Regions from separate parts of the Homo sapiens genome. Here region 1 is linked to region 2. Evidence: promoter capture Hi-C in human tissues and cell types (Jung and others, 2019). All regions are on one chromosome and are shown on one strand. Each heading gives the region's core, a stretch centred on a gene start or on the middle of the fragment in contact. The rest is flanking DNA. Distances are from core to core; before and after follow the strand shown. Region 1 has its middle 95 kb from the start of NEBL-AS1. Region 2 holds the start of SKIDA1 (SKI/DACH domain containing 1).

Region 1 (4,695 bases), core at 1,511-4,010, 450 kb before region 2:
CAAAGAAGATAGACAAATGGCCAGAGACAGAAAGTAAGATGACGGAGGGGGAAATGGGGGGTTAGTGTTTCATGGATGTGGAGTTTCAGTTGGGGAAGACGAAAAAGTTCTAGAAACATACATTTGCACAAAAATGTGAATATACATACTGCCACTGAACTGTCCACTTAAAAATTGTTAAAATGGTAACCTTTATGTTACGTATATCTTACCACAATTTAAAAATATGTTTAAAAATAGCCACCCAAGTCCAGAAATGACCTACAATATAATATTATACTCAAAATTAAGGTAAGTTATTGGGGTCTATCTTGGTTTTTATTCTGAACAGTACTTAAAACTCATGCTTAATCTACTTTTCTTCAAAAAAAATAAAAAATCAAAGGAATTGGGGGAAGAAAAGCTTTGTTCCTCACTCCCTTATATTTATTATGGAGCAAGGTACATTTTAAATTGCTTTTGCTGGCCGGGCGCAGTGGCTCACGCCTGTAATCCCAGCACTTTGGAAGGCTGAAGCGGGTGGGTCACAAGGTCAGGAGATAGAGACCATCCTGGCTAACAACATGGTGAAACCCCATCTCTACTAAAAGTACAAAAAATTAGCCAGGCATGGTGGCAGGTGCCTGTAGTCCCAGCTACTCGGGAGGCTGAGGCAGGAGAATGGCGTGAACCTGGGAGGTGGAGCTTGCAGTGAGCCGAGATGGCACCACTGCACTCCAGCCTGGGCGACAGAGCAAGACTTCATCTCAAAAAAAATAAAAATAAAAATAAATAAATAAATAAATAAATTGCTTTTGTTATTTGTCATTTTTGTAGTTAGAATTCAGCTGATGGTCTGTTGGTTCCTGATATCTTTTTCCCTTCTTCATTTTCTGTCCTCCCTTCCATCTCATTCATAAATCCCCTAGCACTTGCCCCTACCTCCCACACACCTAGGAAGTGGGAGGAAATCTCTCTACCCTGGGGTCAACATTGTCAGGCACAGCAGAACTGATAGACCTTTCAACAGCCCGAGCTATGGGCTTCCCACACTATTCATGACCACGAGAAAGTACTTTAGCTCTTAGAAAAGCAACACTACAAGAGCCACCATATCAAGTCCGATGGATACTGCAGAGCTGGCTGTCACAGGGACACTGAGACACCTTCCAGAGCACGGATTGACTCTCAATACCAGATTATTCTGAAAGCTGGGTTGTGTGCAGAATGGACGGGAGGAGGAGATTGGAAGATGGAAATGCATTCTATGGGGGATCGAAAATAAAAATAATGGGGAAAGCAACAATCAAAGCTGGAAGCTTACCTCAAATTAGTCCTAAAATGAACACAGCAGCATGAGTACAAAATAGACTCTTTCTAATGACAAACAAATGGACCAGAATGAAATGGATTTTTCTGTATCCTAAAAATCTTGGTATTTTGTGTTATTTACAAGGTGTTTAACAGCCAGTAGAATGTATTCTTTTTAAAGTAATAAGCCTTTCAAATTATTACAACGAACACTTTTATGATCAGAAAAAGAAATACTCTAAATAAAAAACAAAAAGGTTACAGACTGTAATAATATAAATGGTTTCCTCTCCTAAATAGAGTCGTGTATGTTGTCTATGCTGTTTGCCATCGTGTACAGTATTTGTCATCCTGAGTTTCACTCCTGGTTAATACACTTTGGAAATCTTCTTGAATCCCAACACACACAGCCCCCATCCCTCAGTTTTTATAAATGACCTGTATACACGTATGCAGAGGTATCTACTCCTATGACCTGCTCATTTGAGTGGGACTTTAAAGGTTTTGATTGTTTAATAAAGAAAAATCATGTATCCAAGCTCTACAACATGCCAGAAGAAGGTATGTCTACAAGATCATTCTCTCTATATCCACCCTAGGAAAATATACTTGATCTTATTTTTAGAAAGAAAAAGAGTAAGAGACAGAGATATTTGGGCAAAGCACTAGAAGTTGCAGTCTTAGTGTTTCAACTTGCTTATTAGCTGGCTGCCACTTGGTGGCACTGTTGATTCCAGTTTGCTCCCAGATCCAGGGGATGAGTGTATCCACTGATCCAACCTTAATAAGCACGTGCGGCTCCTGCCCCATGAAGAACTTCATTAAGCCCTGACAGCCTTTATAGAAACATCAGAATGTCTGTATTTCTACCACCTCCAGATCTAAATGACAAATGGCACAGCAAATGCCCTCCTCTTAGGACTTTCCCTAGCTTTTCCTCCAAAGGAGATATCCAACCTTTCCTTCCAGGTGTCTGTCTCAGCCTCTCTCTCTCGGAAACCTTCTCTATTAACTATAGCCAGAGCCTCCCATGGGACATGGCAAATCTGGGAAAGTGTCCTGGGTGCATCCTGGTGGAGGGGATAACAGGGCAAGACCAGAAAAAGAAAGAAAATGAGGAGGTGAAGAGGCAGTAGTACCACCATCTTGAGATTTTAAAAAAATACAAGATAAAATGCAGGGAGCACAAATCTTTGGTAGGCTCTCATTTCTGTGATTTATTTGGCAGGTGCTTTCATCTAAACCTCCCAGCACACCTGTGTGAGGACCTTGTTTTGGAAGTGAGAAAACTCAGGCTCACAGGGCTTAAGTAACTTGCTCAAGAGTGGGCACACAGAATTTGTGGATCCAGGACTGGAGCTTCAACCTTTTCTCCAAGTTGGCAACACCACACAGCCTTCAGAGGGCTTTATAAAAATAGGGCTCCCAGTATAAACATAGGGAGGCTCAACAACTTCTCACCCAAATAGAAGGACAAAAGTGGGCAGCTTCCCTCTCAATAAGATCTATGGTTCTCATCTTCACCTATCTGCCCCGTAAACACACAGATTGAGCTGCATATTCCTTTATTTATTTTTCCTCCTTTGAGATGGCCAAGGCTGTTAATTTTCAAAAGATCGCAGTTATAGAAACATTTGGAGGAAGGACGTGCACAGACATATAAGATCATTATTTGTTCTTTGTACTCTGCCCCACCACCCAAGGTAGCTCCACCTCTGTCCTACATTGAACTCTCCTTTTTCATATAATAAAAGAAAATCACTAGAAGCCTTGAACAATGACCAATATAGAATCCTCAGAGAGGGGCGGAGTATAGATACTGTATATCAATAAGTCTTACGCTATTGCTTTGAACAGCATGTATTATGATCCTTTCCTGGTAAGAAGAGAATTCTATGATGTCTCAGCTAACTCAGAACATAAATCTTCACAGGTGAACTGTAAAGCATAGAGAGACGGTTCTGGTGGCTGTGATTTTGTAATAAGCACATAATTTATAATGCATATAAAATATGGCTGACCATAAAGTAATGAAAGCGATTTCTTAACAGCACAACACATAGATACAACAAAAGCATGTCATCACTTTCTAAATAGATACTTTGGATATGATATCCATATTCTGTGATCTTGAGACTGCTCAAAACTCTGTGAAAATTCCTCTTTTGATATTGCATTCCGTGCATGAGACATATATTTTTGACTCTTCTCAATTGTGGTAAATATTCATACTTTGAGGGCGAATTTCATTTTTGGGAACAGCTGAGTCATTTGGGACTAACTCTGGCATATAAGCTGGAGAAAATTGAATCAAAGACAAGATTCATTCATTGAATAATTCAACAACTATTCTGTTGGATGCTGTACAATATGAAGTTAGCCTTGGATCTTAGGGTCTCACAGACTAGAGGGGAAGATAAGCATATACATAAATCATTGTAATAAAAATAATTTTCCCACAGAGATTTATGCAGCTCTGGTTGCTTTTAACTAGGACTACAATGGAAAAGAAGCAAGGCTGGGTTTCTGGATTGGGCTTGGAAAGTGGTTCTAAAAACAGATCTAGAAGGAGGTGTCCAACCTGTTTGAGTAAATGCAACTTTGATGGAATGATTATATACCCTCCCAACAGTGCTAATTCTGGCTTATTCAGATATTGATATTCTGGTAGGTGTCATTTTTAAAATGTGATCTGGTTTTTTTGTTTGTTTGTTTTTTGTTTTTTGAGATGGAGTATCACTCTCGCCCAGGCTGGAGTGTGATGGCACAATCTCAGCTCACTGTTAACCTCTGCCTCCTGGGTTCAAGCCATTCTCCTGCCTCAGCCTCCCAAGTAGCTGGGTCTACAGGCATGCACCACCACGCCTAGCTAATTTTTGTATTTTTAGTACAAACAGTATTTCACCATGTTGGCCAGGCTGGTCTCGAACTCCTGACCTCAAGTGATCCACCCACCTCGACCTCCCAAAGTGCTGGGAATACAGGCATGAGCCACCACACCTGGCTGATCTGGTATTATTTAATAGTCACATTCCAACCCCAACAAACTGCAATCATGACTTGATAATCAAATGATGCAAAAATTTTCCACTGTGTTTTTCTAAGCTGGCCTAAAATCAATGGGGCCACCATTTGAGTTGTGGGGAGCTCCAGCAGCTGGCACAGGATGACAAAGGCTTTCATGGGAAGCAGGGGAAAGGCAGTCAGCCATGGGGATGTGAGGCTTGTTATGCACAGGAGGGTTGATCAAATAAGTAAACACATAGAAAAAACCAGGAGCCAGGTTTCTCATCATGGCTCCTAGTGGGAAAACTGAAGGTGGAGATATTGGTGGGAACTCATTTTTAATAGTACCTATAATAGATAAAGAAATTGATATTTAACACACACATATAAACACATACA
Region 2 (5,291 bases), core at 1,281-3,780:
CTGCTCTTCTCATCTCAAGGGCTGTGGGGGACCCTAGTGACCAAGGAAGGAATGGGGTGGGGGGAAGGGGGCAGGGAGGAAAAGAAAGGAGTGAGACTTGATCTGAATCTGTGGGCACATTCCCTTATCTTTCCTGCTATCAGCCAGTTTAAAGGACACCATAATTATGATGGTGATAAAACAATGCCTGCTTATGTGTGCTGAATAAATAAAGAATGTTTACAGCTCAAGAATCTTTTAATTCCAATTAAATGCTATCAAAGAAAAGCCACTTTTCCTACTGCAACCGCCTTTCCCCCCAATTATCTTGTTTTGTTGTAATATTTTCCTATGAGACACATGGGCCTTTCACAATTGATCCTGAATGCAAAAGAAAAAAAATCAGAGAAAGTAGAGTTTGACCTTCAGATATTAAATAATACACAAATATCCAGAACCACAATTTGTTAGGGTTGCCCAAGTTTTTGTTTATTTTACACAAGGGCCAAACATATAGAGACTGAAGTGGTGACACCAAGTGTTGAGGCCTACCTATGGGCTGCTCAGCCATACTGAAATCCTGAGCCACCACGAGGGGAGAGAGGAGAGACAAGACATGAGGAGCCTGATGGTCTCTGGAAAGGGAATCCTCTTCTGGTTCTGTTCCCCTGGCTTCAGCCCAAATCCTTCTGGGAGCACTGGAGCCAATCACTGTCTTTCACTGCTGCAGCTACTGGGAACCTACAAAAAAGCGGGAGATAAAAAAAAAAAAAAAAAAATCACAAGTTCGAATTTATGGATACACAAGTATCATTTCATATTCATGACATCAGCAAATCACATCATAATCAGATTTGAGCAAGGTTTGGACACTAAGACCCAAAAGACTGGACACTCAACACTGACAGTATCACATATTAACCAGAAAATTCGCTTTTTTGTTATGGAATCATAGGGTGAAAATTAAGTCTTTTAACTTTGAAAAGCTTACTTTTCACTTCTGAGGCCAATTTTTACACTAATAAATTTCAAGTAAACGTCTCTTTTAAAGTTGTTCCACAACATTTTAATTCAAACTTCTATTTCCTTTCTCAGTTGGGGTAGTGTTTTGTTTGTGTTTTAAAAAAACACATGGCACAACAAACGTTATGGAAAACGCACTCATTCCGTTAAATGCCGATACAAACCTGCCTTTTACTACATCTGTCTAAGCAGCGCATTGCTAAGTATAAACTTAAAAAAATTTTTTTTTCTCAAAGACATATCTATTATTTCTTGGCAAATACTATTTGGTGATGTGGTGCAAAAACACAATGGTAAAAAATTTCGGGGTATTTGTAAGTTTTCTGGAGAGTTGCAGGCCCCTTTCCTTTTGAAAGTTTAGAGCTCCAATACCCTCAATTCTACTGGCAGAATTAGGATGGACTTAGAGGGTCCTAAACGTGACCGATTCACTAAGGCGGGGGGGGGGGGGGGCTACAGCTTGCAGCAACGTGCTCTGCAACTTAATCCTACGCTAAAAGAGGGCAGAGAGCGAAAAAGAATGGAATACAAACTCTCCCGACATCCGTAGTTACTTTCAAGGTGGATTGTGTATTTTAAGGCTGATGGGAACGTCTGGTTTGTGGAGCAAAAAGAAGAGAAGGTAAGTGTTTGTCCTTGTATCCACCAGTTCGTAGAGAAACAATGAAAGAACAAAGGGAACCACTTCCCCATCTGAACATTTTCTGTATCTCCCTCCGTTTCAAGCCAAAAAGCTTGGGAAGGGATTCGCTTTACTCTACCTTAAGTAGTGGTTGCTGGCTTGTTGAACTAAGAATGAGAAAAAAGTTGAGAGGCAGATATAGACTAAATAATAATAAAAAAGGCTTGCTGTGGCGGATCTCCACCGCGCCAGTGTCAGCAACTTGCAGCAGAAGTTGCTCAATGCACGGAGGCAAAGCCCAAGAAATACCCTTTGCACACCAGATTTCGAACTCAGTCATTTAAATAGACTTTCTTGCTGTTTGAAGGGGTTTCTGCGCACAAAATGTGTAGGTAGTGGCTATGGGAGAGATGTACTATTTAGGTCGAAAAATGATCTCATGGCTATCTGGAAAAGAATTTTTAAAAAGGAAAGGGGATTCAAGTATCACGTTACTGTTTGCTAATAGAAGAAATGGCAGCACTGGCTGGGAAAGGAGAGGGATTCGTATTGAAATGCATTTGCTTTGGGGTACGCTGGTTATCCGCAAGTCTGGCTTTGTGGGTCTGCGTGGCTGAATAAGTGACCAAGTGCCTTCGGCATTATATAAACGGATCGATGTGTGCGGGAGTCCCCAAAGCCGTCGAGCACGTGAAACGCGACTTTTTACTGCCCTCCAAGCGGCGACCAAGCCCCGCTCCACCCCACCCCGCCTCAAAATCCGTATATTACCTGCCCTGTTACAGTGACACATGTTTATGTTTATAGTCCTGGTTTGTAGTAGTGTCAAGAACCGCAGCAAGAGGAAGGGGAGGAGAGAGGAGAGGGAGGAGTAAATTCAACCACCCCCACTTGTTGTTAAAGCAAATTTACTGCGTTATTGCAAGCTCAGGACGGGGGGCTGGGATGAGAGTTGAGAGGAAGGGTTGAGTTGGGAAGTGTGTTGGCGGTGGAAGGTGGGGGTGGGGTTAAGAGCTCCGCAATGGAGCTCCTCTCCCCAGCAGCCCAGGAAAAGCAGCTCGGTCAATAGGGGAGCATGCTGGCGCGGTCGAAAACAAAAAGGTTCCTCCTGCTCGCTGCGTTCACGTGGGGGGCTCTGCACGCGGGGCTCCAGGGCCGTGACCCCTGACCCCGGCTCCTCTCCGCGCTCTCCGGTGCCGCGCGGCCACTTTTTACCCAGGATCCCTCGCGCGGGCCGCGCTCGTGCCGAGCTGGAGTCCTTCCTAATCCTCCATTCCCGGCTCTCGCTCCCCGCCCCCGCCGCCAGCCCCGGGGGAGGATTCTCCGGCGGGGAACCCCCGCCCCACCCCCACCCCGACTGCCCCGGCGGAGTCGGCCGCAGCGAGTCCGCGCGGGGCGGGGAGGGCCGGGCCGGGCCTCCCCTACCGCGCCGGGCCTGCGAGGGAGGGGAGGGACGGGGAGCCGAGGGGAGGGGGCGCCGGCCTCCCGGCTCAGCTGCCCCACTGAGGCCTGGACCTGTTGACTGCGATTGGCCCGCCTCATCCCGCGCCCTCTCTCTGCTCGCAGCGGCCCCAGCCCTTCCGCGGCGTCGCGGGGAGGAAATGGGGATGGCTGTCCTCCTCTCCGCCTCCTTCTAACTTTCCTTTTTTTATTTGGGTGTGTTGGGGGGGGTGCTGAGAAAGCCCAGGCAACTCCACCGCCGCCCCATCCTGCCTCCGAAAGTCTCGTCACGCCCGACCCGCCGCCGCCCTCCCAGCCCCCATGACTTAAAACCGCCTCCCCTCCTCGCAGCGGCGCCCCGGCCCGGAGCCCGAGAGCCCTCGACGCCCCCGCCGCGCCTCCCCCGCCTGGCCTGGCCCAGCGGCGTCCCCAGCGAATTGTGTCGCTTTTCTGCCCTGGAAGCTCCCTCGGCCACGTTCCACTTTTTTTCCCAGTCCCAGGAGGCGTAAGATAAAACCTCTGATTTGCTGCGTGCTGCCGGGCACATTCTCTGCCCTCTCGTCCGAAGGACGAGTTTAAAATGGAGAGTTTAAAATAATAGCATTTACAGGAGGAAATAAAGAGCGAGGAGATGGTTCTTTGGCCGGTTTTAAGACATACATGCTTTTTTTTTCTTTTAATACAAGATGTCTTAAGGGTTAAAAGCGTTCTAGGGTTTGCTGTATTTCCTTCTAGATTTGGGGTTTCCTGAGGAAATCTTTTCCGGAGGGAAATAGCAAATCAACATTAAGATGGAAGCGAGACTTCTCAGCCACTTTTGGAAATGAAGGGGGAAATTGTAAAAATACATTCAGAAAAGGGCGCGAAGGCGGCGGCTGAGGGGAAGAAGCTGGAGTCTTGGGAGGAAGCGCAGTGGGTTGGAATCGGGGGAAGGAGGGCCCGCTAGGTCCGGGCGGGGAAGAAGGCGTGCGGGCGGCGGGGCGTGCGCCGGGCCGGGCAGCTGGAGGAAGGCGCGGCGGGACTGGCGAGCGCGAAGAGGCAGGCGGGGAAGGCCTCGGGGGGCGGGGGCCGGGCGCGGGGCCGGCGCGCCGGAGGAAGCGGGACCTGGCTCCTCGCGCCCGCCGGGCCGCCCCCATTGTTCTGCCCTAGCACCGCTGTTAGCCGAGCACGTCCTGACCGAGGGAGGGGCCCCGCGGGCCAACCCGACCCCCGTCGGCGCCTCCCCGGGCTCCTGAGCTCCGGCCGGGTCGGGTCGGGCCGGCGCGGCAAGTTTTGATGGTCAGACTCAGCCAGCGAGGGGTTCCCAGCTGAAGACCTCGGAGGAAGGAGCCTTTACAGCGTGCTGCGAAATTGAAGGAAGCCGGGCGAGCCTGCAACGCACACGTTATGAGAAAAAGGGAAAGCAACATAGATATGTTTATAAAGTGATAAATAGATAAGAGACACCCGTGGGCAGTTATTATTCTGGATCCGGAAAGTTACAGTAGATTATATAATATTTGAAATATCTTGAAAAGTATGGATTCAAAAATCCATTTAAAAAAAGGTTCAAAGGAATTCGGAAAAGCACGTTTCGCTATCCTTATTACTGATTACTCAGCTCTTCTTTGTACACAGAAAGTCTAGTTTTAAAAGGAAAGGCTGAGCTAGCCCTTTCAAAAACGGGCTTCCTTTAACGTGAAGTGCGTTTTCAAAATAGGGAATTTCAAAAGGGAAAAACGTTTAATTTGCTTTTAAGCCACGTTTTGGAAACAAATAATTGCAATCCACTTAATAAACTCTGTCTGTTTTCCTTTGTGAGGCATATGGAAGAAATATTTCTGGCCAACGTCACAGTTGTTTTTTTTTAAATGAAGATTTCCAACAAGTGCTTGCGAGTCTTGTCGACAAGACCAAAGTCATCGTGCGTGAAAGGCCAAGAAAAAATAATTTCAATCCTGTGGTCCAAACCTTACTAGGGCAAGAGAGTAATTTCGACTTAGGTTTATGATAGACTTTGCGGAAATTCCTTCTAAAATACTCATTAGTAGTCTGTGTGTTATGAAGCACTGTTTCCCAAGGTAGATTTTAAAAAACCAATTAGAATTGATCTTTAATGGAATATTATATTTACACGTCATCATGAAAACATCATTTGACAGAGTTTTGAATTACAAGAAAGGAGTTAACAGATGATGCTCATAAATAGCATCTGTTTGAAAAGACCCCTTAAGAGTCAGTTAAAGGT

What was found. Contacts are between HindIII fragments. The study calls those that stand out against the background at their distance.
Region 1: a fragment that was not itself captured here is called in contact with the fragment with the promoter of SKIDA1 in region 2 in 1 of the 25 tissues and cell types used here (dorsolateral prefrontal cortex).

Annotation. Positions count from the first base shown.
Region 1 is chr10:21,076,859-21,081,553 of GRCh38, forward strand. It overlaps a transcript of NEBL not described here. Among named protein-coding and RNA genes, the nearest start is that of NEBL-AS1, 95 kb to the right of the region's middle. The HindIII fragment of the contact is 3,820 bases long and covers 851-4,670 here.
Region 2 is chr10:21,523,152-21,528,442 of GRCh38, forward strand. SKIDA1 (SKI/DACH domain containing 1) reads right to left here and starts at 2,531. Exons shown (of 4, transcript NM_207371.4): 1 at 2,396-2,531; 2 at 532-720. RefSeq lists enhancers at 1,923-2,566, 2,567-3,210 and silencers at 2,866-3,285, 3,406-3,555, 4,001-4,120, 4,131-4,450, 4,310-4,468. The HindIII fragment of the contact is 2,515 bases long and covers 1,351-3,865 here.